Linked DNA regions of Homo sapiens: regions 1, 2, 3, 4, 6 and 7 are each linked to region 5. Evidence: promoter capture Hi-C in human tissues and cell types (Jung and others, 2019). All regions are on one chromosome and are shown on one strand. The core of a region is centred on a gene start or on the middle of the fragment in contact, and the rest is flanking DNA. Distances in the headings are between cores, read along the strand shown.

The links. Contacts are between HindIII fragments. The study calls those that stand out against the background at their distance.
Region 1: a fragment that was not itself captured here is called in contact with the fragment with the promoter of C1QL3 in region 5 in 1 of the 25 tissues and cell types used here (dorsolateral prefrontal cortex).
Region 2: a contact is called between a fragment that was not itself captured here and the fragment with the promoter of C1QL3 in region 5, in 1 of the 25 tissues and cell types used here (lymphoblastoid cells).
Region 3: a contact is called between a fragment that was not itself captured here and the fragment with the promoter of C1QL3 in region 5, in 2 of the 25 tissues and cell types used here (heart right ventricle and thymus).
Region 4: a fragment that was not itself captured here is called in contact with the fragment with the promoter of C1QL3 in region 5 in 1 of the 25 tissues and cell types used here (aorta).
Region 6: a contact is called between a fragment that was not itself captured here and the fragment with the promoter of C1QL3 in region 5, in 4 of the 25 tissues and cell types used here (H1 embryonic stem cells, bladder, heart left ventricle and 1 more).
Region 7: a fragment that was not itself captured here is called in contact with the fragment with the promoter of C1QL3 in region 5 in 5 of the 25 tissues and cell types used here (aorta, dorsolateral prefrontal cortex, mesendoderm cells and 2 more).

The regions. Positions count from the first base shown.
Region 1 is chr10:16,299,493-16,303,117 of GRCh38, reverse strand. No RefSeq gene overlaps it. Among named protein-coding and RNA genes, the nearest start is that of LINC02654, 23 kb to the right of the region's middle. The HindIII fragment of the contact is 4,128 bases long and covers 1-3,314 here.
Region 2 is chr10:16,763,164-16,766,962 of GRCh38, reverse strand. RSU1 (Ras suppressor protein 1) reads left to right here. Exons shown (of 9, transcript NM_012425.4): 4 at 2,453-2,573. Among named protein-coding and RNA genes, the nearest start is that of RSU1, 52 kb to the left of the region's middle. The HindIII fragment of the contact is 4,126 bases long and covers 1-3,799 here.
Region 3 is chr10:16,677,772-16,681,504 of GRCh38, reverse strand. All of the region lies in intron 8 of RSU1 (Ras suppressor protein 1), which reads left to right. It overlaps LOC124902385 (a long non-coding RNA gene), which reads left to right. Exons shown (of 2, transcript XR_007062073.1): 2 at 1-3,733. Among named protein-coding and RNA genes, the nearest start is that of RSU1, 140 kb to the left of the region's middle. The HindIII fragment of the contact is 9,054 bases long and covers 1-3,733 here.
Region 4 is chr10:16,324,757-16,328,568 of GRCh38, reverse strand. No RefSeq gene overlaps it. Among named protein-coding and RNA genes, the nearest start is that of LINC02654, 49 kb to the right of the region's middle. The HindIII fragment of the contact is 4,027 bases long and covers 539-3,812 here.
Region 5 is chr10:16,519,593-16,523,160 of GRCh38, reverse strand. It overlaps C1QL3 (complement C1q like 3), which reads left to right and starts at 1,282. Exons shown (of 2, transcript NM_001010908.2): 1 at 1,282-2,683. The coding sequence starts at 2,096. RefSeq lists silencers at 1,342-1,571, 1,842-2,061, 2,372-2,431 and enhancers at 2,731-3,231, 3,232-3,568. The HindIII fragment of the contact is 8,174 bases long and covers 1-3,568 here.
Region 6 is chr10:16,365,196-16,369,026 of GRCh38, reverse strand. No RefSeq gene overlaps it. Among named protein-coding and RNA genes, the nearest start is that of PTER, 70 kb to the left of the region's middle. The HindIII fragment of the contact is 5,747 bases long and covers 1-3,831 here.
Region 7 is chr10:16,281,158-16,284,863 of GRCh38, reverse strand. It overlaps LINC02654 (long intergenic non-protein coding RNA 2654), which reads right to left. Exons shown (of 4, transcript NR_184075.1): 2 at 956-1,134. Among named protein-coding and RNA genes, the nearest start is that of LINC02654, 5.0 kb to the right of the region's middle. The HindIII fragment of the contact is 7,682 bases long and covers 1-3,706 here.

The sequences.
Region 1 (3,625 bases), core at 1-2,500, 220 kb after region 5:
TATCTGCCTACTACTGTCTAAACATGTTTTACTCATTTCCCAGACCTTTTTGCCCAGGCTCTGCTATGGCCCACTGGCCACTGATGCCTCCTGCTAGACTAGCCCACTGCTTGTTTTAAACACACTAGAAACATTGCTCTAATGTGGGCAGTTTCCAGGCTCGATGCTCTATTTTACTGATATGTCAGGTCACAGGTACAATTGGCAGGTCACAGGTGCAATTTCTTTTCTTTCTTTTTCTCTCCTTTTTTTTTTTTTTTTTTTTTTTTTTTTTTTTCTGAGACAGGGTCTCACTCTGTCACCTAGACTGGTATGCCATAGTGTGATCTTGGCTCACTGTACTCACCTCCTGGGTTTAAGCGATTCTCCTGCCACAGCCTATTGAGTAGCTGGGATTACAGGCAGCCACCACCATGCCTGGCTAATTTTTGTGTTTTTAGTAGAGATGGGGTTTTGCCATGTTGGCTAGGCTGGTCTCGAACTCGTGACCTCAGGTGATCCGCCCACCTCAGCCTCCCTAAGTGCTGGGATTACAGGCATGAGCCACTGCCTCTGGCCTAGATCACATGTGCAATTTTATTTTATTTTTTATTTTTTTTATTTTTATTTTTTTATTTTTTGAGACGGAGTCTTTCTCTGTTGCCTAGGCTGTAGTCCAGTGGTGCAATCTCGGCTCACTGCAAGCTCCGCCTCCTGGGTTCACGCCATTCTCCTGCCTCAGCCTCCTGAGTAGCTGGGACTACAGGCGCCCGCCACCATGCCTGGCTAATTTTTTGTATTTTTAGTAGAGACAGGGTTTCACCATGTTAGCCAGGATGGTCTCGATCTGACCTCATGATCTGCCTGCTTCAGCCTCCCAAAGTGCTGGGATTACAGGTGTGAGCCACTGCGCCCGGCCCACATGTGCAATTTTGCATTGATCAGTTCTAATCCTGAAATGCTATATAGTAAAACCCAAAGTTCTTATGGAAGGAACAGAGACAAACTTTCATTTTTGGCAAGGAGACAGGATTACAATCTGCTGTGTGTTAGCTGAGTGGAGTATGGGTTTACTTAAATTGCGTTGAGTTTAAATAAGTTTTGGATTTATTAGGCAACATTTGAATCAACTACTTACTGGGTTAGGACTTTCATCGTATATTTCTATATTCCTTCTACAGTATTCATGTTTTCTTCATGAAAATACTGATAGCAATGATATTCCCCCTTGATTGTTTTATAAGCTATATTCTCCTACTTCTTCCTATATTTTCTCTCCCTACACAATTGTTATGGTGATTCTAAGCTTTTATCTTCAGTTTTTATTGAGCTCATCAATGATCAAAGTACATCAACATGAGAAAAGATGATATGTTACTAAATATATATGGCTTTATATATATATATAGCAGTATTTAGTGTATATACATGTATACATTTATAGAACTAAGCATATAATATAGCATTTAGTAAGTTGTGATAAACTTAACAAGAAAATGTACGAATGTTGGTATTTTTCAGTTATTCTTGTCCAATTGAGTTATCCTAGACACCGGAAAATTTTCATCTCTGGCAGAAAAAAATCAGTTAATATAATTTTCTCTGTTGAAAAATTTTGTTTAGAGAATTCTATAGATTTTTAACTGCTGTCAAGAAAAAGGTTTGTCTTGCTTTTTGGAGTGATATGATCTTGAAAATTAGTGTGTAAAGTGATTTATTTAAAATACAGTCATGTGGCACTTAATGTTTTGATCAATGACAGACCACATATACAACATATACAACAGTGGTCCAACAAGATTATAATGGAGGCCGGGTGCAGTGGCTCAAGCCTCTAATCTCAGCACTTTGAGAGGCCGAGGCAGGTGGGTAACTGAGGTAAGGAGTTCGAGACCAGCCCGGCCAACATGGTGAAACCCTGTCTCTACTAAAAATACAAAAAATTAGCTGGATGTGGTGGTGTGCACCTGTAATCTCAGCTACTCAGGAGGCTGAGGCAGGAGAATCACTTGAACCCAGGAGGTGGAAGTTGCAGTGAGCCAAGATCATGCCATTGCACTCCAGCCTGGGCAAAAAGAGTGAAACTCTGTTAAAAAAAAAAAAAAAAAAAAGATTATAATTATAATGGAGCTGAAAAATTCCTGTCACCTAGTGACGTTGTAGCACAATGCATTACTCATGTGTTTGCAATGGCGCTGGTGTAAACAGACTTCTACTGCTAATAGTATAAAAATCTAGCACGTACAATTACGTACAGTACATAATGCTTGATGATAAATGACTATGTTACTGGTTTACTTATTTACCTTACTTTTTATTGTTATTTTAGAGTGTACTCCTTCTACTTATATGTATAAAAAAGCCAACTGTGAAATAGCCTCAGGCGGGTCCTCCAGGAGATATTCTAGAAGAAGGCATTGTTATCATAGGAGATGACAGCTCCATGTGTGTTACTGCCCCTGAAGACCTCCCAGTGAGATGAGATGCAGAGGTGGAAAACAGTGACATTGATGATCCCAACCCTGTGTAGGACTAGGCTAATAGGTGTGTTTGTGTCTTAGTTTTTAACAAAAAAGTTTAAAGGTAAAAGTAAAACAAACAAAAAGGTAAAATAGAAAAAAGCTTATAAAATAAGAATATAAAGACAAAGTATTTTTGTATAGCAGTACAGTGTTTGTGTTGTACGCTGTTATTGTGAGTCAAAAAGTTAAAAAAATTTAAAAGTTTATAAGGTAAAAAAGTTACAGTAAGCTGAGCCGAATTTATTATTGAGGAAAGAACTGTTTTTAAAATAGAGTGTAGCATAAGTGTACGGTGTCTATAAAGTCTACAGTAGTGTATAGTGACGTCCTAGGCCTTCCCTTTCACTCGTCACTCGCTCACTCACCCAGAGCAACTTCCAGTCCTGCAAGGTCTATTCATGCTAAGTGTCTTATATTTTTTTCTTGTATTCTATATTTTTACTGTACCTTGCACTGTACCTTAGATATGTTTAGATACACAAATACCACTGTGTTACAGTTGCCTACAGTGTTCATTACAGTCACATGGGTACAGGTTTGTAGCCTTAGGAGCCAAAGGAATAGATGATACCATATAGCCTAAGGTCTGCAGTAGGCCATACCATCTAGATTTGTTTAAATACACCCTATGATGTTTACACAATGACGAAATAATCAAACGACACATTTCTCAGAACATGTCCTCATTGTTAAGTGACACACGAGTGTGTATACACCGTAGTATTCATGGGGGTGTAAATTGGTGAGCCATTTGGCAGGATCTGGTGGAGTTGAAAATGTGCATGGCCCATGGCCCATCAGTTCCTCTTCCACATTTCCACATAGAAATGTTCTCCCAAATGTGCACCAGTATATGCTTGAATAGCTAAGGCCATAACACTAAAAACTAACAAACAGTGAAGCATTGCAATTTGGTCCAGGTACTTTACAGTCATAATTTTATTTAATCCTATTGTAACTTACCATCTTACAAAACTCTTACCTTAGTTATCATAAGTTGAGTTGATTTTCTTGAAGGTAGAATTCCAAGCATCTGCTCATCACTAAAAAGTCATTTCCTTACTTTAAATATTTGTACTTACATTGCTTTTTAAGAGTCTTAGTTTATTGCAGAATGTTTATAA
Region 2 (3,799 bases), core at 752-3,251, 240 kb before region 5:
TGCAACCTCTGCTTCCCAGAAGCGATTCTCCTGCCTCAGCTTCCCGAGTAGCTGGAACTACAGGCATGCGCCACCATGCCCAGCTAATTATTTATTTATTTATTTATTTTTTGTAGAGATGGGGTTTCACCACGTCGGCCAGGCTGGTCTCAAACTCCTGACCTCAGGTGATTCACCTGCCTCAGCCTCCCAAAGTGCTGGGATCACAGGAGTGAGCTACCACACCAGGCCAATCTTTTCTCTTCTCGAGATAGAGTTGTACTCTTGTCACCTAGGCTGGAGTGTAATGGCATGATCTTGGCTTACTGCAACCTCTGCCTCCCAGGTTCAAGCGATTCTCCTGCCTCAGCTTCCCGAGTAGCTGGGATTACAGGCGTCTGCCACCATGCCCAGCTAATTTTTGTATTTTTAGTAGAGTCAGAGTTGCACCGTGTTGGTCAGGCTAGTCTTGAACTCCTGACCTCAGATAGTCCACCCACCTCGGCCTCCTAAAGTGCTGGGTTACAGGTGTGAGCCACCGCTCCCGGCCCTGGTGATTTTCTTGGTAATCCCTTACACACAGTGAATACCATTCATTTACACAGAAGTGTTCCATGGACTGTGCACCTAAGAAAGAATGTACATTTGCAGCCACACTGTACAGGTAGGGTTCATTTGCATTCCTGCAGGTATCCCAGAGGGAGGGTTCTGGAGGAACTTTGAGCTGTCTAGATTACCCGATGAAAACTTGTTCTTTTATCAACGGCCACTTCCGGAGCTCGCGCAGGGGCCGCTCACTAGACCACTGCTCCCTGCCCGTGTGCCCCAGTTCAGAGTAATCTGTATTCTTCACAGTCCCTTCTTCCAGTGAAAGCATCTCTTTTACCTTTCACCAAGCCTTACCTCTAAAAGGCCAGTGATACCTTAGACATTTCAGAAAGCTCAAAATGATGACTCAAAACTATAATAAGCAACGTGCCTGTCCCTTTACTTTTGTTCCCCTGGGAGTTATCAATTGGTCGTCTTGAAATGGCTAGCTGCTTAAATATTTTAGATGTATGTTTGGCATTTTACACACACCTTTGTGGTGGTTCTAATCACAGGTGCTCCCGGGTCTGAGTTTAGGTCTGACTGCAGGAAGCAGGTTGGTCTCCCAGCCTCCTGGGGCACCCCTGGAGGAAGCAGATGGGATGGGAAGTAAACCTGACTGATAAGAGACATCACACTTTCTCAGGCTGAGTTCCACGCCCCTGTTCATGTTCTTAGTTATCTGGATAGTCTTGGTATCAGAGTTTACGTGAACCATGGCCAAGCTTATCACCCACAGAAATGTTTGTAGAAAGACTGAATAGCAAGTGGGATAGATGAATTACAGTCTATGGAAACTCCTGCTGCTGCCAATTTACAGTTTGTGCTTTTAAGATAAAGATGCCTTTGGCTTTTACATTTGTATTTTCAAATGTATATATTCTAGGGAAGGAGGAACCTTTCAGGTCCCCAGTGGCTGATTTTCACCTTTGATCTGAATACTAGTATTCATAGCATGCTACTGAGTTGACTTTTTGTATTTCTATATAATAACAGTGTATCGATCTCTTGCTAATCTGATGTAACCTTTGTGTGTGTATATGTATGTATGTGTGTGTGTGTTACTGATCAAGTTAAATTACTCCAGAGGCCAAAATCAGAAACTAGGGAGGGTGAATATTTCATCATTTAAAATTGAGCTTATATTGTTATTAATGCAATGTTAAGAGGACAGCTTTTCAGATACTGGGTTATTTAAGCAGCTTCAATGTACATCATCCCGGAAGGGATTTGGAGATCTCCATCTTTCTTCTGGTGGCAATGCAAGAAAACCAAAAGAAAAAAAAAATTGCACCTATAAGATCATATATGACAACCATAAGTATATATGCTTCATAATACTCATTTTTATAGACTGTTTGTGGTACAGAAATTCTCTTTTGTGCATTTTTGCTCTGTTTCTCCCCCCCCATTAGCCATCTGAAACAAACTGTGCCAAGCACTTAGCTAATCATATACGAAGAAGCATTTCTTCTTCTGACGGCAATGCAAGAAAACCAAAAGGAAAAAAAAAGTTGCACTTAGAAGATCGTATATGACAACCATAAGTATATATGCTTCTTAATATTCATTTTTATAGGCTGTTTATGGTACAGAAATTCTCTGTTGTGCATTTTTGCTCTGTTTCCCCCCTCATTGTCCATCTGAAACAAACTATGCCAAGCACTTAGCTAACCATATATGAAGAAGCATTTAAGCAGCCACTCAGAAGTGAGTGACTGCTTATGAAAAACCTGTAAAAAATAAATAAGACCGGTAGGTGAATTCGATGGCCCTTTTGAAGTTATGTCTTTCTTTGCTTTGAAAGAAAAACAAAATGTGCCGCTGCCATCCCTTGCTAGGAGTTCCATTCCCAGATTCACACTCAGCATTTTTGTTTCCATAGTGGTGCCACCGAACATCGCAGAACTGAAGAATTTGGAGGTGCTCAACTTTTTTAATAACCAAATCGAGGAGCTGCCCACACAGATCAGTAGCCTTCAGAAACTCAAACACCTGAACCTTGGGTGAGTATCAGTGGAGCGGAAAGGATGGAGAGGAAGAGAGTGGAAGGGGCATGCCGGGTAAGGCCAGGGGAGGGATTCCTTTTATATTATTGCACAGAAATGGATTTCTAATTTCTTTTTATGTTTTGGGTCTTAAAAAAATTTTATTGTTTTAATATATTCTTTCAGTGGCCTACATTAGTGCATATTTGAGAGCTAATTGAGAGGCTAATTGTTGGCGCAATAAGGAAGTTAAATTTTTATTGTATTTTCTGTCCAGTAAAATTTTATCTCAGTTCTGCTGACCGAGAAGGGACTTATTTGCATAGCATGAACTGGCGGACAAGTGGTAATATGGCTGATTTCTTTTTCCTCTCTGTGTTAAATTGGAATAGTTTACAAAGCACCTTCGTGCCGTGGAGGGAAGAATATTTTCCCTAATGATGCTTCATTCATTTATGCAATTCTTCTCTTTAGCTGAGAGGTGACAGTCCTGTCTTTCTTTATGCAAAGGTGAAGAGAGGAGTTTTGATTCAGCTGAGGTTGCAGAACCAGGGAGCAGTAAATAATAATAATGATAATCTATTTTTGTGTATTGCTTTGCAGCACTTGACCCTCTCAACATTTGTGAGGTACGGAGGGCAGGTTTTAGTGCTTTCATTGTATACAGAGGAAGCCAAGCCTTTTCAAAGGGGCTAAGGGCCTGGCTCCTGGTCACCCCTGAGGTTAGCGGCCAAGCTGGGAAGATGGTTCTGGGTCTGAAGGCTCCTTCAGACCCCATTGTTATGGTCTGGGTCTGTGTCCCCAGCAAATCTCATGTGGAATTGTAATCCCCAGTGTTGGAGGTGGGGCCTGGTGGGAGGTGATTGGATCCTGGGGGCGGAGCTCTCCTGAATGGTTTAGCACTATCCCCTCTTGGTACTGTCCTTGTGATAGTGAGTGAGTTACTGTGAGACCTGGTTGTTTAAAAGTGCGTAGCACCTCCCCCCTTGTGCTGTCTTGCTCCTGCCATGTAATAAGCATACTCCTGCATTGCCTTCCACCATGAGTAAAAGCTCCCTGAGACTTCCCCACAAGCAGCTGCTGCCACGCTTCCTATACAGCCGGTAGAACCACGAGTCGGTTAAACCTCTTTTCTTGTAAGTTACCCAGCCTCAGGCATTCCTTTATAGCAATGGGAGAACAGACAAATAGATCCATAGACCCCAACCGGAACTGCGGCATCAGAATTTCATCTTCATTGGCGC
Region 3 (3,733 bases), core at 1,208-3,707, 160 kb before region 5:
AAGGCAATAGAAGACAATGATGACCCTGAATACAAATTGTTACGGGAAAATGGATCCAAGATAAAATTACCAGATCAACCTTTTTATTCCATATTTTATGGAATATCTAATGGATGTTTGGCAGTAACTTATTCTTACACACGAATTCCTGACAGTTTCGATTCTTCAGACTTATTAATCAGTGTAGTCAGCACCAGAGCAATTTTATGAGACTTAACAGTCATCAAAAATTTATTATCAGATAAATCAGAGAAACAACGAGCATCTTAATAGGTTAGAGAAAGTGGCATGTAAAGGATCATTTAAGATGGTGCTTTTTGTCAGTTGTGCGTTATATTTACAACCAATATCTAAGAACTTACTCATAATTTCATGCAAATAGTCAGCAGGGTGATAGTTGCTGTCTTAGGTCAACCTTTTCTCTTTGTTTTTCTCCAGCAGAATGTTGTGTTTGGTGTAACTATAAGGCTAAGACTGCTAAATAGACACACAATAGGAAGCATCATTTCCCAATGTTAAGCCTATAGCATTTATTTTAATGCAGTATCTCCATTTTCTTCTGGATTTTATTAGAGTTGTCATCCAAAATTAAGAGTTACTGAGCTCAGCCCTTTCCCTTGGGAACAAGGTGCTAAACTTGAGCTCTTTGTTTTGTTTTGTTGTTTCATTTTTTCCTGACATAGTTTGGATATCTGTCCGCACCCAAATCTCATGTTGAAATGCAATCCCCAGCATTGGAGGTGAGGCCTGGTGGGAGGTGTTTGGATCAGAAGGGAGATCCCTCATGAATGGCTTTTGCCGTCCTCTTGGTGATGAGTGAGCTCTTGCTCTGAGTTCACACAAGATCTGGTTGTTTAAAAGTGTGTGCCACCTCCCTCCCTCCCCTTCCCTTTCCTCTTGCTCCTGCTTTTGCCACGTGACATGCCTGCACCCCCTTCATCTTCTGCCATGTTTGTAAACTTCCTGAGGCCTCCCTAGAAGCAAGCAGATGCCAGCACTATGCTTCTTGTACAGCCTGAAGAACCATGAGCAAATTAAACTTCTTTTCTGTATAAATTGCCTAGCCTCAGGTATTTATAGCAACGCAAGAATGAACTAACACAGTCCTTGTTTTTTATTTTTCTTCTTCTTACTATTTTTTTAAACTTGAGCTCTTTGGAATGTCATGGGAAAATGGTATTCAGATTGCCTTTCTTATGTCCAGGCTTCACGTGTACATTCTGTCCTGAGACACAGGCCTGTGTCTGCTGTATTCTCGGCACTGTTTTTGATACCCCGTTAAAGGTGTAATAAGAGACCAGATTTCTTAAAAATCCGGTTTTTGGCTTTGTGCGATGTCTCACACCTGTAATCCCAGCACTTTGGGAGGCGAGGGCAGGCAGATCACTTGAGGTTAGGAGTTTGAAACCAGACTGGCCAACATGGTGAAACCCCATCTCTACTGAAAATACAAAAATTAGCCAGGCATGGTGGTGCACGTCTGTAATCCCAGGTACTCCGGAGGCTGAGGCTGGAGAATCGCTTGAACCTGGGAGGGAGAGATTGCGGTGAGCCAAGATTGTGCCACTGCACTCCAGCCTGGGCAACAGAGTGAGACTCTGTCTCATAAAAAAAAAAAAAAAAAAAAAAAAAAAACTTGAGTCTTTATTGTGCCAGATGAGGGGAGTTTTTCCATCACCGTATCTTTGCCCTGAGTGTTCCTGCATCACAGTATCCTCTAGGGCAGAAGGATGGTGATGGTGGGCCACGTGGGAGCTGAGCTGGCAATAGAGAGCCTTCAGACAGAGCTGCTGGGAATGGACCCAGAAAGACAAGGCCGGGTTACATCCCAGCAGAGATACAACCTGCTTTCCACCTCACGTCCACGTGTGCTGCCTTGTCTGTCTGGAATGCTCTTTCTTCACATCTTTACCTATTAAATGCCCAGTTATTCTTCAAGTGTCAGGTTAAATATCGCTTCCTCAGAGATCTTTTCTTGGAAGGTTTCCCTACTGCCCATCAACTCTAAGCTCCTTTTATCATCTTTCTTTAGGGCCTCTACTTTCATTAGTAGTAATTTTAATAATAACAGTGGCTATCACTTCTTTCCCAGGTGTCAGACATTGTATGCCTTGTATGTACTGTATGTAAGTTTCTCACTCAATATTTATTGGTGTGAATACTACCTGTATTTTAGTAGTTAAGTATGTGTTTTTTTCTCCTGTAAGAGACTGAAGTCTTTTTGAAAGCAAGATTCCTTCTTGACTGGGCTTTGCACATGACATCCCCAGTGTCTTATATAACTTCTGACAGGTCACCCTAATTTCTGAAAAGTAAGACCATTCTGGGGTCTGGAGTGTTCCAAGTTATACAGTTCATTGTTTTTGGTGGTAGGTAATAAAAAGTACTGGAAACATTAAAATGTGTTCTCACTATCTAATACTCAGCTTAGATTATGACTTCCCTATGGTGCTTCGTTATTTTTATAGATCTTTTTACCACATTACTCTTATGGTGCAAATGAAACATTTCCTTAACCAATAAACTAATTATGTTTGAAAGCAAGACTTTTTTTTTTTTAATTCAAATCTGAGGGATCTGTGATTCACTTGTCTGCCTTCTCTTTTTCCATGATGGAGTAGTCCATGGGGCATGTGGAATGCGTGATTGTGCTTGTAAGTGGATGGAATATTCCTGAAGGATAGGCAATAAACTAGTAATGTAGTAATGGTGGTTATCTCTAGGGAAAGAAACTGGATGGCAAGAGACAGGGAGGAGTGGGCACATCCTCTTCACTCTTTATCCTGTGGTACCTATTGAATGTCCTATTTTCACATGTATTCACTATTGAAAAGATTATTTCTTAAAAAAAGAAAATACTCCCCAGTAGGAAGTTTTTACTTCCCCATGAATGTATAAAGGAAGAAACCACAAAGAATGTGGCTTTGTAACTGGTTTTGTCTACACTATCTCCTATTTTCATTCATTTGAAGATTGTGTGGAAGTCCTCCTTTTTAGTCTCCCTTTGATCAGGTACACTAAAAATTTTCAAGGTGATATCACCTCGTAAAATGAGTCCCGAATCTTGGAAAGAGACAATTTGAAAGACAGCTTGAGAGAAGGTTTCTCGCTTAATGCATGGACCATCCCAATTCTTGGCTGAAGCATTGTGAAATCTTCCACTGTTTATAACACCTGTCAGATAACATTAGGCTTTCCTATGTTCTTGGAAGAATCTGTGGCAGTCTGTTTTTCCTTGAGAATCAAATGAGAAAAGATGGTCATTCATGAAGACCAACAAAAGAGAAGAATAAAGAAAAAGCAAGAAAATGGATTTCTACGTTGGGTTTGTTTTGTTTTGTTAGGGGTATTTTCCCACCTAAGACTTTAAGTGAGAGAAAAGCTTTTCTATTTTTGAAAGGGCATGAGGGTTTGAAATAAGGAAGAATGGATCTTGAAAGAATTGATTGTGTCTTAAAGGATGGAAATGCGCTTCGGATTCCTACAGTGAGACAAGGATTTTTTTTTTGTTTCTTTTCTCCTTAATTTTTTTAAGCTGTCAACTAAGATGACGTGTGTGTTTCAGACTGTTTATGTGGGATTATGAGCATGTTTAATCTGTTCTTGTGCATTCCCAATAGAAACTGCGTGAGTGGTGTGATCTTTTAATAGAATGTGTCTTGCAACTAACAAATGTATTTTGGTGCTAAATTCTGGATAATTCCTAAGAAATGTAAATGTTGTCAATAAAAGT
Region 4 (3,812 bases), core at 1,303-3,802, 200 kb after region 5:
TAATCTGGCCCATTTCCGTTTTTTAGTTTTGTCTTCTGCTACTCTCTACCGTTTAGTCTATATACCATCCATATAAAACTTTTTGGGTTTACTAAACACACTTGGTTTTTTCAGACCTCTGCAACTTCAAACATTCTGTTCTATATAACCAAAATAACTGTCTGTATTTGCTCCTTGGAAAAATCTTTTTCTGTAAAACTTCACTCAACAGAATCCAGTTAGGATTGGGATAATGGGAAGCAGGACAAAGTTAGTTTATTGGTACATCTGGGTCAGAAGTGAAAAGGAGGGCAAGTGCCTCAGGGCGGGGCAGGAGAATGTCCAAAGCTTGGGGTGAGGGTGTCTGAGCCACACAGCAGCAGGAACACCTCTGGGTGAGTCCAGATTTCAGAGACAAGAACCATGTCAGATCTAACCAAGAATAAGTTGTGGTGGTGTTGAGCAGCAAACTCCAAGGTCAAGAAAAATGTCACAAAACGTTGCCTAGCTGTCACAGCTGGGGAGCACAGCAGGATACTGACCGAGGTACGATCTGAAGATGGAAATGCAGCCTCCACCTACACGTAAGTCTGCTAGATGCTTTGTTGGTGCTGCGGTTGATTTTTGCTTCTACACATGCAGAGCTTCTCACGCTGGGATGCTTTGTATCAAGAAATCTGATCTATTCTGCTCAGGTATCACTTCATTTCATCTTCTTGCTATAGTTTGCTTATGTGTATAAACTTTTAACCTATTCATATGCCTGTAAGCTTATTGGCTACTAACTCTCTGTATTGGGTTGCATTTATTTATTTACATATTTGCCACTCTGCTAGTCGGAGAGCTTCTGGAGTGGGAGCCTGCCCCTTGTTTATCTCCCTATCTTCATTGCGTAGCACTGTTTGTTGGTGTATAACTGGCATCTAAGCAGATGTTTGTTGAATGAATTATTAAGTGAATACACAAGTGCTAATTTGTGATATTCAAGGAGCTAGATGTAGAGCAATCTTTTGGCTGCCTTTTAGTACATTTTACAGTTGACTGTAAAATCTAGGGCAGAGTCTCACCCAGGCAGTGAGCAAGTTTCCAATGAGCTCTTTGGAGGGGAAATATCATCTACAACTAGTACACTTCACAGTATTGACTTGTTCAGGACAAAGACGCTCTGAGTTGATTCATATGAGAAACTGAATTGTCCAGGTTATGAATGAATCTAGTCAAGGGGTCAGCAATTTTTTTTTTTCTGTGAAGGTTCAGAGAGTAAATATTTTAGGCTTTGTAGGCTATACAGTCTCTGTTGCATCTACTCTAATTCTGAATTTGTAGTGTACAAAATGTCATAGCCAATGTATAAATAAATGAGTATAGCTGCATTCTAATAAAACTTTATCTACAAAACCAGGTAGTGGGCCAGATTTGGCCTGTGTGCTATAGTTTGTCCATTCCTGATCTAGTCAGTTCTTCCAGTATTTCATTACCAGAAGGGGTCTGAGTGTGGGAGAAAAGGATAGACAGTAATGGTTACTACATACACTGAGCTTGATACTTAACATTATGTCATTGATTTTTTGCTGCACTCGGTAAGATGTATAGTATTATTCCATTTGATAGTTGGAGAAAGTAAAGTTCAAAATATCTATGTGGCTTGATAAGATCACATAAACAGTAAGTGATAAACTCCCTTTTTATTTTATTTTTCTTTTTTGAGACAGGATTTTGCTCTGTCATCCAGGCTGGTGTGCAGTGGAGTAATCACAGCTCACTGCAGCCTTACCTCCTTGGCTCAAGCAATCCTCCTGCTTCAGCCTCCTGAGTAACTGGGACCACAGGTGTATGCCACCACAATTGGCTAATTTATTTTTATGTTTTGTAGAGACAGAGTCTCCCTACATTGCTCAGGCTGATCTCAAACTCCTGGGCTCAACTAATCCTACCACCTCAGCCTCCTGTGCTGGGATTACAGGCATGAGCAACTGCTCCTGGCTGGTAAACTCTTTTGATTTCAACCAAATCAAGCTGATTACAAAACTCATGTTTTCTTCATTAAAATACACTGTCTCCATTTCATTGTCAATTGACTCATTGTGAGAGAAACTGTGGCAAGTTTAAAGTTGTCTTTTGTCAATCAGGAGAGGTGTGGCTGTAATATGGTAATGACTCCAGTAATCTCAAGCACCTTAAGCACCCACGTGGACTGTGAAATACACACTGTTATGAAAGGGGTTTGGACCTTAGGGCCACACAGGTATTTTGTGTGTGTGTGATTCTGATGAGTTTCGTCCATTTCCACAGAAAGTGTAGGCTGAGAACAGATCGGGTTCTTGGTGATACTAGTTGTTCATCTCAGAGCAGCAGGGTCTCTGCTTCCTGTTGTCCTCACTCTGAGACTCAGGCTTGGGGACCTTCACCCCAGCTACAGGGGTATCCCTGCTACCTATGCCAGGGGAAAAGAACAGGGCAGACCATGTATATATCTTATAGGTGTTTCCCAAGAATTGGTGTACATTAGAGCCACTCACCTTCACTGGCTACAGTAAGTCAGATTTTTTAAAAATTTAACTTTAAAGTGGGCAGGTAGCTGGCCATGTACCCAGGATAAACATAACTATAAATATAAGCGAATTGGCTGGAGGCAGTGGCTCAAGCCTATAATCTCAGCACTTTGAGAGGCCAAGCTGGGTGGATCACCTGAGGTCAGGAGTTTGAGACCAGCCTGGCCAACATGGTGAAACCCTGTCTCTACTGAAAACCCAAAAAATTAGCCGGGTGTGATGGGTGCCTGTAATCCCAGCTACTTGGGAGGCTAAGGCAGGAGAATCACTTGAACCTGGGAGGCAGAGGTTGTGGTGAACCGAGATCGGTGCCACTGCACTCCAGCCTGGAAGATTGAGTGAGACTCTATCTCAAAAATAAACAAATAAGTTAATAGCACTGATAACTACAAAGAACTTTTTTTTGCTAAGTAGATTAAATGTCAAAAGTTATTCTATCTGAAATTACGCCAATGTGTGTGGGAGAAAACGGAGGTCCAGACGCCTTCAGAACATATTAATGTTAATATCACCTTATGTGTTAATTACCAAAAACGTTCTTTCCTGACTCATTTACTCCATTATGTACTTGGACGGTGAGTACCTTCTCCAAATATTTTGACAATAGGGAATGGAGGCATTCCACAAAGTATTGGATGTTATTTAATACCTTGTGGAATTGCTGTCAAGTCAAGGTTTAAAGAAACTTTAGTAACGTTCAAAGAGGCATCTATATGACAGTGAAGTTCTTCTACATGGAAAGGGTATATGGAGATAATATAGCCAATGTGGAAACTAACGTTAATTAGGGAATTGGGTAAGGGTAAACTTGGCTCCTGGGATATGGAACAAACTTCTGTCTTCAGTTAACACCATACAATTTTACCAACAGAGCTGAGTTCTTTGTAACTATGTATAAATGCACCTCATGCTATATCCTCCTGATCCCCAGAGCATGAGTAACTGCTAGAGAACTGGAGGGTAATTTGCAAGGTCTCTAAGCCTGTTATTGATTTTCACTGGTTAAAACCCATAAGTGGGCTGTTCACACATCCTGAGAATATGGATTCTTTCATCCCTAGGGCCACCAGCTGGCTAGAATCTCCAAGAGACTTCAGGCCTCATGCTGATCATCATGCTGCTTCTCTCTGTTCTCTATTAATGCTTAGGAGGGATGGGTGGGGGCATTGAAGGCAGTTGAGCTTCCTGCCTCCATCCAAGTGCTGAAAAGAAAAGGACTACATATCAGGGTTCATGTTTCAGCATGAAGATGTTGTGTGAACTGATTCCACGTATACATCC
Region 5 (3,568 bases), core at 33-2,532:
GGCTGCTGATCGTCACCCAGGATGTTACTGTTTGCTTGCTGTAGTCTTATTTGTTCCTGCTTTTCTCATTTCAGATTCTCACCCTGATGTAATAAGTCACCGTCTTCCCAGCCATCATCCTCGTATTGACAAGCAAATGTCACCCACGTTTGATTGACATCTGTTGCTCCTGAATGCAAAAGTATGATTTAGGATTCAATTCTACTTATTTATTTAAAGCCATTCTTGTGTGTCTTATGTATTTGTTGGTGGGGTAACTTGCCTGATATCTACCCTGGAGGCCTTCCAGTAATATGATAAACCATGCTGTTCCTTCTGCAGCTCACCCACTGAGAATGGGGGCTCTTCTTTCTTGTATTTCTCCTACTTCTCCCCTCCCTCAATGTATATTCGGGAAATCTGCTATGGAGCTTATAGAACTCTTTCCATATGCTAGGAAAAGACCTTGCCCAGCACTTGTGCAAAAGCTTCTTGCTTGATCTTTTGACGCCATTTTGACAAGTGGTTATTTCTTGTACATTTAGCGACTTTAAGTAAACGCAACTTCAGGGCCATTGGCGGTATCCCCCGAAAGACTGCTAGAACTGTAAGACTGTAAGCACAGTACGTATGTATGCACTCACCACGGTGCAGCATTTGTAAAAAGGACCAACCCCCTCCTCCCCCAGAGGCGGTGGACATGTTCATTTAAAATCATTCACAAATGTTCTTTGGCTTTTCAACATACCTCACTGTTCTTGGGGCAACATCTTATTCATTTACAAGGCAGAGGAGGAAAACCATCAGGTTAAAAGAAAATCACATCTACCATCTGGAAAATTCTAAAAGGCCCTCCTTCTGTTAACAGTGGCATTTTGAAAACACCTGAAGCACTGATTGTAGAGGAGCTAGCAAAGAAACTGTCAACTCAGCCACCCTCCTTTCAACCTTCACCTCCACCCTCCAACTGGGGCTGCTGGCAGTGGGGAAATCGGGGATTTAGGTGTGACCCTTGAGCTCTGAAAGCTGTCGCACAGCTGTCTCCCTTCCCCAGGTGGGTCCAGCAGGACCTGCCATCGCTTGGTTCAGCAAGGGAGTATTCAGAATCTCACTGTTCATCCATGTGCAGAGAGAGAAAAAAAGAGAGGCCGAAAAAAAAAAAAAAATCCCACATTGTCAGAGTAATGCCAAACTCTCTCTGAGTGGGATGAGCAGAGCAGATGCTGCAATGAGATGCCAAAGCGGCTCCCCTTCCTCTGTGCCTTGGGTGCCTATAAATTGCTCCGGCGCGCGTTTGTCAGCCTCCTCTTCTCCTGGCAGGTGGTACCCAGGCAGAATTCTGCCTTCAGTCTCTCTCTCGCTCCGCTCCCGGCCGTGAGGCGCTCGCCGCTGCTCGCTCGCTCCTCCGCCCCAGCTCTGAGCCTCGCCGTGCCGACCGTGCCCGCCGCCGCCGCCGCTGGGCGCACCCGGGGGACGCCCGGGCCCACGCGGGGCTTTGGGGTGCGCGTCTATTCGAGTTGTGGTGGTGGCAAAGGAGGAAGAGAGAAAGGAGGCAATAAAAAAAAAAGGCAGCGGACGGGCGAACTGAGCGAGCGAAAGAAGAGGAGGAGGAGGCAGAAAAAGGCAACTTCAGACGGAAAGTTGGTGCGAACAGGCGCAGTCTGCAAAAACGGAAAAGTCGATCGCAGGCGGCGGCGGCATAAAAGTGTGAGCTGCCCGGGCGAGCTCAGGAGGCGGCGGCTGGCTCTGCCCTCCCGGTGGCCGCGCCGGCGCCGGCTGCAGCCACAGGTGCGAAGGAGCTCGCGGGGGGCGAGGGCGCCCCGCGCACCCCTCCCCCGGCCCCCACCCCGGGCTCGGGACTTCGGCTCAAGTCACTGGGCGCCCGCGCTCCCTCCCCAGCCGCAGCCTCCGCGGGGGGAGCAGGAGTCGGCAGCAGCGGCCGGCGCACGCACGCCCAGGGGAGTTGGGGTTCGCAGGGGGTTGTTTTCGGCTCTGAAGAGGTCCCCGCCCAACCTTCAAAATTCTGTCCAAAAGCAGACAAGAGGATCGCCCCGCGCTGAGCCGGCTGGTGGGCAGCAGGAGGCGCCTGATCGCCGCCGGGGCGCTGGGGGTGGTGATGGTGCTGCTGCTGGTGATCCTCATCCCGGTGCTGGTGAGCTCGGCCGGCACGTCGGCGCACTACGAGATGCTGGGCACCTGCCGCATGGTCTGCGACCCCTACGGGGGCACCAAGGCGCCCAGCACCGCTGCCACGCCCGACCGCGGCCTCATGCAGTCCCTGCCCACCTTCATCCAGGGCCCCAAAGGCGAGGCCGGCAGGCCCGGGAAGGCGGGTCCGCGCGGGCCCCCCGGAGAGCCCGGGCCACCCGGCCCCATGGGGCCCCCGGGCGAGAAGGGCGAGCCGGGCCGCCAAGGCCTGCCGGGCCCGCCCGGGGCGCCCGGCCTGAACGCGGCCGGGGCCATCAGCGCCGCCACCTACAGCACGGTGCCCAAGATCGCCTTCTACGCCGGCCTCAAGCGGCAGCATGAAGGCTACGAGGTGCTCAAGTTCGACGACGTGGTCACCAACCTCGGAAACCACTACGACCCCACCACCGGCAAGTTCACCTGCTCCATCCCGGGCATCTACTTCTTCACCTACCACGTCCTGATGCGCGGAGGGGACGGCACCAGCATGTGGGCTGATCTCTGCAAAAACAACCAGGTGAGCGCGGGCGGGCGGCGGGGAGGGCGGGGAGGGAGCGCGGGAAGGTGCGGGCGAGAGGGAGGAGACCCCGGAAATGGGGGTGGGAGCCCGCGGAGGAAGGGCGCGGCGGCCGGGCTCCCTGGAGCGACGGCAAGGGGGGACGCCGTCCCACCCTGGAGAGGCGGGGGTCGTGCGCGCAGGAGGGCGCCCCGCGGCCTGGAGAGGGCAGTTCCGGAGTCTGGGACCCTCGATCGGTGCGCGCCCCTGCGAGCGCGACCCTCGAGGGGCGGGAAGCCGGGAGCTGGGTCCCGGGGACAGCTCGTGCGCTGGGGAGTCCCGGCGCGGGAAGCGACCCCTGGCCGTGGGATCCTCCGCAACAGAGGGTAGCTTACGGGCTTTCTGGGGAGTGGAGAGGCCTGGGGGAGTCCGGAATGGGCGTGGCAGGGTGACCGACTCGGGGGTGGTAGACAAAGGCCGGAGGGAGAAACAAGGGCCCCGAAGGAATGAGTCCAAGCAGGGCTCAGCCACAGCGGAGGAGCGACCGTGGGGCTCGCCGTCGCCGAGTCCTTGCGGTGTCCCAGGCCGTGAAACTCACATATAGTCAATTTCAAGGCGCAAACTCCAGTTTCGTCTTCAGCCAAAAAATAGCGGAGGGGAGAGGCAAGGAGTGCTGATAACAAAAAGAATAGTTGAGATTCGGGGGTTCATGCGGTGAAACACAGCGCGCAGCCAGACTCAGAACCCAAACTCTCTATGGAGTCGGAGGACGCTCAGGCAGGTGGCCTGGGGGGCGACCGGTTCGAGCCCAGCCCCGGGTCTATCGGCCTCTGGACCAGCCGGCCAAGAGGATTTGATTCCCTGAGCCGGTCGGCGCCGCTACAAGGGCTACGCATGGGTCTGCAG
Region 6 (3,831 bases), core at 1,130-3,629, 160 kb after region 5:
CACAAATATCAACATAAATAGACACATGGAGTAGTCCATGCTAGTGAGTTACTAATTTCCAGGAAAATGCCTCCTAAAATTTCCCTGCTGAAGGCTGCATGGCGGCTCTTCTTTGAGTAATCTTTTCCTCGTCTTATATTTGCAGTAATGACTCTTTTCCAATGGGACATATGTGGTCGTCTTTCTTTTTCTGTGGCATGATTATCAATTCATAAGCAGTGGCTGTTTGAGGCTGAATTTTAATTTCCCCTGGACTAAGCTGGATATTTTTCCTGTAGCTGATCCTTAAAGAACATAGCGAACCTGGAGGCTGCAACTAGGTTCAGAAGGTGAAGTGCAGTGGGGGAAATCCACCTGGAGTTAAAAAAAACAGCTAGTTGATTTGTCTTCCTCGCTTTGTTGTTCTATGTGACTGTGAGATGTGTTACATCTCCTAAAATGTCCACTACATATACTTTCTCTCCCCCTCCCTGCCCCTGAAATGACATTATGAGATTTCCTCTTGTATGCAAGTTAGTTAATAGCTAAATTTCATCAAAATCAATTTGTGAATAAGTAAACACCTCATAATAAATAACCCACTTTCGAAGTACATGTTTTCTGGGATTGATCTAACAGCATCCAATAAGTTCTGCCAATATCATTTCACATTAACTTCTGTCATGTTTAAATGCTTTTACAGGCTAATGGAGCAGTTTGTAATTTTGCCATACCTACGCTATTACTCAGACACATGGCATATGATGGATAAATAAGACGTCCTCAAATGTATTTGCATTAAATGTTCGCTAGGGGTTTCCTGTCTTACTGCCCCCACTCCCAGAAGCTACCCTGGGAGATGAATGTGCCAGGATAAGTTATCTGGGGCTCATAAAGTCTTTTCCAGAAGATTGAAATAAAGTCAGTGCTTGCAGAAGACAAATCAATTGTGACATTTCTGAATAGAGTGCGATGCATTTAATTAGCACAAGACATGCTAGCAAATGCTGAATTACCCAATAAATCACTGGATGCTGGAACCCATACAGAGCGGGGAATCAGCTGTCTTGTGAGATGTACAGCAAGTGATAATAGGGAATCTGGCCATTTGTATTGTCACTTTGCCTCATTTTCTGCTAATTTTTTCTGTGTTGACATTTGTGCATAGAGCCCCTGTAATTATTCTAAACTATCAGCAAACTCTGTCCCCACCCAGTCTGAGAACATTTTACAAATATTTGCATTTGCAAAGGACATTCACTACTGTTGATGTGATATGGCAGATGTGGCAGTAAGGTCCTCTGTAGAGGGAGAGAGCGTGCAGGTAAAAATCTTCAGCACGGACATACTGAAAAAGCAACTAACGGGGTCATTGTATTGCAGTTCATTGAAAATATTGAAGGTGTTGCTTCAGTCATTTTTAAGTCTCATAAAGATATCTATCAGTTTAGGCAGAAAAGTGGCTCACTTTAATGTTTGACACCTTTGGATTTTTTTTTTTTTTTAACCTGGAACTTAGATGCTACTTCAGTCTGTCTTTGAAATGCTGCAGCTTGGGAGCATTAAGTCTTAAATCCTATGTTTTGGAGATAGAGAATCTGGGAGAAAATTGAAAATGAATTCTAAATGAGTCTTGCTGGCTCTGGAAGGCAAGGTGAAAGGTTCCCTCCAGTGAGGGGCACTTTATGGATAAATTGGTGATTGTCCTAGTGAAGCTTTAATTGAGTAGGTTGCTATGATGGAAACATTAAGGTAGCTTACCTAATGAGCACCAGATCTCACAGAAGATGCCGCTACATACCCACTGCACTCTGCTTTGATACCAGGTTAATTGGTGACATTTCATAGGTAGGTAAAGGTAGATCCAATCAGGTTTTCATTTATAAAAAAATCTCAGGTCTGCAAAGCTGGAGTCTGATATTCTGGAGAAGTGAGACTCCAGAAATACCAGCATCATTTATCTGAAGGCATGGGAGTCTAGCTTGTGTTATTGGGGCTTATGATCACGATGCAGAGAGGAGAAAAAAAAATCTCAGAATAACCAAAGAAGGCTTTGCAAATTATGCAAGGGCCCTTTCCTCCCCGCCCGTCCCCCGCACCCATCCCAGGCATCCTAAAACATGAAAGGGAAAGAGTTCTCCTTACCCCAAGGAATCAACAGGGATGGAGAGGCAGACAAAACTAAAAAGATGGAATTCGTAGGCAACCAACAATAACTGCTGCATGGACACTGTCCAAATGCATCATCACCCACCAGTACCTTTCTTTGTTTTTCTTTACTTATGTCTTGCTCTGTTGCCCAGGCTGGAGTGTAGTGGCACCATCATAGCTCACTGCAGCCTCGAACTCCTGCACTCAAGCAATCCTTCTGCCTCAGCCCCCCAGTAGCTAAGACTATAGGCATGCACCACTATGGCTGGCTAATTTTTGTATTTTTTCTAGAGACAGAGGTCTTACTGTATTACCCAGGCTGATCTCGAACTCCTGGTCTCAAGCGATCCTCCTGCCTTGGCCTCTTTTTCTTGTTTTCCCCATCACTGCTTGGGGAAGATGACGTCCACATCCCCAGGCAGCTGAATCTTGATTAGGGTACACCTGTCCTGGCAATTCCCTTTCCTTAGCCAGGGTCTGGTTGAGGAAAGGGGACGTCAGATAGTTCCGACCAATGGGACGTCTGGGGAAATCTGTTGGACAGTTTCTAGGACAGTTTAATGCTTTAAAATAGAGGTACAGAAAGAGAAATAGTCTTTTCTGTCTCTGAATGAATTTGAATATAGAGAACTCAAGCTGATGTAGTCATTTTTAGCAATGAGAGCACAGGCCCCAGGACCAAAGCTAGCACCCTGAGGGTGAAAGGACTCATAGGGTGACCAACCATCCAGGTTTATCTCAGACTAAGGGGGTTCTCAGGACTTCTCATTTGAAGTGCTAAAACCAGGAAAGTCCCAGAAAACTGGGACAAGTTGGTCACTCCAGAAAAGAAAGCGTTGGATGTTTGATGATATCATCACTGCTAAGTTAAGCAGCTCTGTGGAAGGTCTACCTCTAGGCTTCAATCCTTGTGACCAGTGTCTATTGTTCATGCCGTTCTGAGCTGTGTTTTATTTTATGCAGCTGAAAGTGTCCTAATGGCCAATATAGAAGCAATTGTGTTTCAAATAGAAGCCTACACAAAGAGCTGGATGTGGTGGCTCATGCCTGTAATCCCAGGACTTTGGGGAGCTGAGGCTGTAGGATAGCTAGAGCTCGAAAATTCATGACCACCCTGGGCAACATAGTGAGACCTTGTCTGTACTAAAAAATAAAAATAATTAGCTGGGTGTGGTGGTGTGCCCCTGTAGTCCTAGCTACTGTGGAGGCTAAGGAGGGAGGATCGTTTGAGCCCAGGGGTTGGAGGCTGCAGTAAGCTATGATGGCACCACTGCACTCCAGCCTGGGCAACAGAGTGAGACCCTGTCTCAAACCCTACAAATATGAGTGGTGCTATAGTAATAGGAAGATAGGGTCTTTCACATATGCTCTTCTTAATCTTAAACACTTCCTTTATAGTTAACTAATACATGGATATTTATTAAAATGTGTTTAATAGAGAATAATAGTTCATCACCAGCCATATTATGTTGCCTTATTTTAAATTGCTACTCTCTGCTCTTAGAGTGTGATGAATTCTTAGACATACAAATGACCATAAAGCAGAGCAAGCCTGTATTATTGGTGAAATATCTTTTACATCAGCAGCAATAAATGTCAAATGAGCAGGTATGAATTCAAAATGTGAAATAAAGCTTTCATTAGCAGCTTCAGATGATCAAAGCAGCAAGCAGCTTAAGCACTAACAGAAAAGAGACCTCA
Region 7 (3,706 bases), core at 388-2,887, 240 kb after region 5:
TACTTTATGCCAGCCCCTAAGAGTCTTCTCAATGAAAGTCCTCAAAGAATAAGGGAATGACATTTGTGAAAAGCATTCTGAGGTTGCTCTGAAAAATATTTCCAGATAATTCCAAGATGCTACAAGCGATCATACTGACACAGTTTACAAATAGAGCAAACACCAAAGGATACAGTCGCATGCACAAAAACAGCTTATTTGTGACCTCAGGATTACCACAAAATTGAGCTGCATTTCTGGACTGTCACCTTCAGGTGGGCCAAGGTGGTTACAGATCACTTTGCAAGTAGAATTTGTAGCTTCCAGGATAGATTAGAGGATCATTCTGTCATAGGGCACCTATTATCTAAGTCTGTGGAAATGCCACCTTCTCTCACCCTTATATTGTATAGACTTTATTTAAGTTTTTTTTAAGCATAAGAGAAATTCTGTTCTTGTCACTGTAATTTGCTGGCTTTAGGGTAAGCAGCAACTGCTAGAGTGGCACAAGATACGGAGGTGGAGATTTTGAACTTTGGGAATTAAAAAGGAGACCATGCAAATGGGTGCTTGAGGTATGCTTCTGATGGAGTGGAGTGAGAAGCCCCTGAGAGGGGCTGGCTGCTGGCTGGAGAGAAGGCAGAAACATCAGCAGGATCATGAGGCATCGCGGCCAGGGCCTAACAAGGCCGCAAACTCATGATCAGGGACTGGCTGGAGGGCCCAGGGCCTCATGGCCTTGCTGCATAGCAGGCAACAGCTTCCCAGTGCTGCTGTGTTTCCTATAACTCCCCCTCTGTGGTCTCCCTAAAGTCCTCCCACACTCTCCAGCTGCTACACTGACAACGCGGCACAGTTGCTCTTTCCGGAAGCCCAGAACCTTCCCCAACCACTGTCCCTTCCAACTCGCCAGCATCACACCCTCTCCACATTACTTCTCACCCAGCCCCTGTGACCCTCTTCCCTTATCTCTCACCTTTGTTCAACTCAAGGATCAACACTGCAAATGTTGCCTCTTCTTTTCCTTGAATTTGAGTCTCTGGACCAAGAGTCCATAGCATCTCTCTATGGAAGGCAGGAGAAGGCTGGAAGGGCGGCTGTCAGGAGCTCAGAGCTTCCTTGACCTTCACATCTCTCCCTTAGCGGCCCCTGCTTCTGAGAAAAAAGGTAGTTAACCAGGACTTAGGTGGTCCGCTTTCTTCTCTACATTGCCTGCTAACTGGCTTTGTGAGGGCAGAAAAGTCACTAAGCTTATCTCCTTACTATTTACCTAGAAAATGCCCTAATTTTCTCTCTTTTTAAAAATTAAAAAAAACAAAAAACAAGCATTTTTGAGACAGAGCCTCACCCCAGGCTTGAGGGCAGTGGCGTGACTCTAGTTCACTACGGCCTCAAACTCCTGGGCTTAAGGGGTCCTCCTGCCTCAGTCCCCTGAGTAGCTGTGACTACAGGTGCATGCCACCATGTCTGACTAATTTTTAAATTTTTTTGTAGAGTCGTGGGTCTCACTATATGTTGCCCAGGCTGGTCTCAAACTCCTGGCCTCAATCCATACTCCTGCCTCAGCCTCCCATAGTGCTGGGATTGCAGATGTGAGCCACTGTGCTCAGCCATCAATGGTTTCCCAGTCCCAAGTTCTCCTTCTTCCACCCTCCCAGCATTATCTTGCTACTCAAGTGGCCATGCTGCAGAATGGTTCCCGCATTTGTGCTCGCTAACCTCCTAGCTAGTTTACTCATCTCCCTCTTATTCCATGGGTGGATGTGTTAGTCTGTTCTCACGCTGCTAATAAAGACATATTGAGACTTGGTAATTTATGAAGGAAAGAGGTTTAATTGATGCACAGTTCAGCATAGCTTAGGAGGCCTCAGTAAACTTACAATCATAGCGGAAGGGGAAGCAAACATGCCCTTCTGGACCTGGTGGCAGCAGGAGAAGTGCTGAGCAAAAGGGGGGAAAAGCCCCTTATAAAACCATCAGATCCCGTGAGAACTCACTATCAGGAGAACACCATTAGGATAATCACCCCATGATTAAATTATCTCCTAGCAGGTCTCTCCCACAACATGTGGGGATTATGGGAACTACAATTCAACGTGAGATTTGGCTGGGGACACAGCCAAACTGTATCAGTGGACTAATTTTTCTTTCTATTCCCTTCTCCCCTAGACCAGTCAGTCATTTTAGTAAGATTGTCTGACTGCCCACTATGGGCTAGACCTAATTTCTGGGTACACATTAATGAGCAAAATAGTTATATTTTTTCTTTTTTTTTTTTTTTTTTTTTTTTAAATTGAGACAGAGTCTCACTTTGTCATGTAGGCTGGAGTGCAGTGGCATGATCTCAACTCACTGCAACCTCTGTCTCCTGGGTTCAAGCAATTCTCCTGCCTCAGCCCCTGAGTAGCTGGGATTACAGGTGTGTGCCATGATGCCCGGGTAATTTTTGTAGTTTTAATTGAGATGAGGTTTTGCCATGTTGGCCAGGCTGGTCTTGAACTCCTGACCTCAAGTGATCTGCCCGCCTTGGCCTCCCAAAGTGCTGGCATTACAGGTGTGATCTGCCACGCCTGCCCTAAGATAGTTATATTTTCTGTTCTCACACAGCTTATAGACCAAAGTGAGTAAGACAGATGAGAAACAAGAAAAAAAGGTGCAAAATGATAAAACACAATAGAATAACACATTAGAAATCTTTCCTTATTCTCATATCTTTCTCTGAAGATCAGGCTTTGAAGTAAATTAGCCATAGACTTGAGACTCATAACTTTTGCTTCTTTAGATGCTCTAGTTGACCTTCTCATGGCTGTGGTCTTTGAAAGACTGTTCAAGATCAGAAACTGAAGACAAGGCTGAGCAGGATTGTGGACTTCTAGGTTTCTGGAATGTTGAAACCACATCATGTACAGGATATGGCTTAGAAATAGGTACAGGCCTACAATTCTGTGTATATATGTACATATACTTCAACATGCGTTAGTGAATAAGGCATTATATTTTGTCTTCCTGGTGCATACTTTTTTTTTTTTTTTTTGGCTGAGTGTCAGTCACTCTGTCATCCTGGCTGGAGTGCAGTGGCACCATCATTTCTCACTGCAGCCTCGACCTCTCAGGCTCAAGTGATCCTCCCACCTTAGCCTCCTAAGTAGCTGGGCTACAGGAGCACACCATTAAGCCTGGTGAATTTTTTAAAATTTTTTTGTGCAGGCAGGGTCTCACTATATTGCCTAGGCTGGTCTTAAACTCCTGGCTTTAAACAATCCTCCTGCCTCAGCCTCCCAAAGTGCTGGGACTGCAGGCGGAGCCACCGCAACAAGGTATTGAAAAGTTGAGACATAGCTTATCCATTGAAAACTTAACAGCACTCAGTAAGTCTTAGTTAAGAAGAAGACAGAAAATCAGGAGCGGTTGGAATCAAAAAGTGAGAGACAACACCCAAAGTCAGTTTAGGTTTACAGGCTCTTTGAATAGCTGGTTCTCACTCTTAAGTTATTCTGAATATCATAAAGCCTTGGCAAAGCCTGAACTTGGTCTTGGTTCTGCTTTCGTGTTATCAATAGCATGCAGTTTTAGAGGAAGGTTCCTGGGAAATGCCCTAGAAACTGGGGGCCTCTTTGAGGCAGGCAAATTTCTGGAAATTAGCAAGTATAATCTTGTTTTGTTGTCCCAAGCTGTTGAGGCTGGAGATTTTTAGTACAGAAATTATTTCCTTCTCCTCCTCCAAATC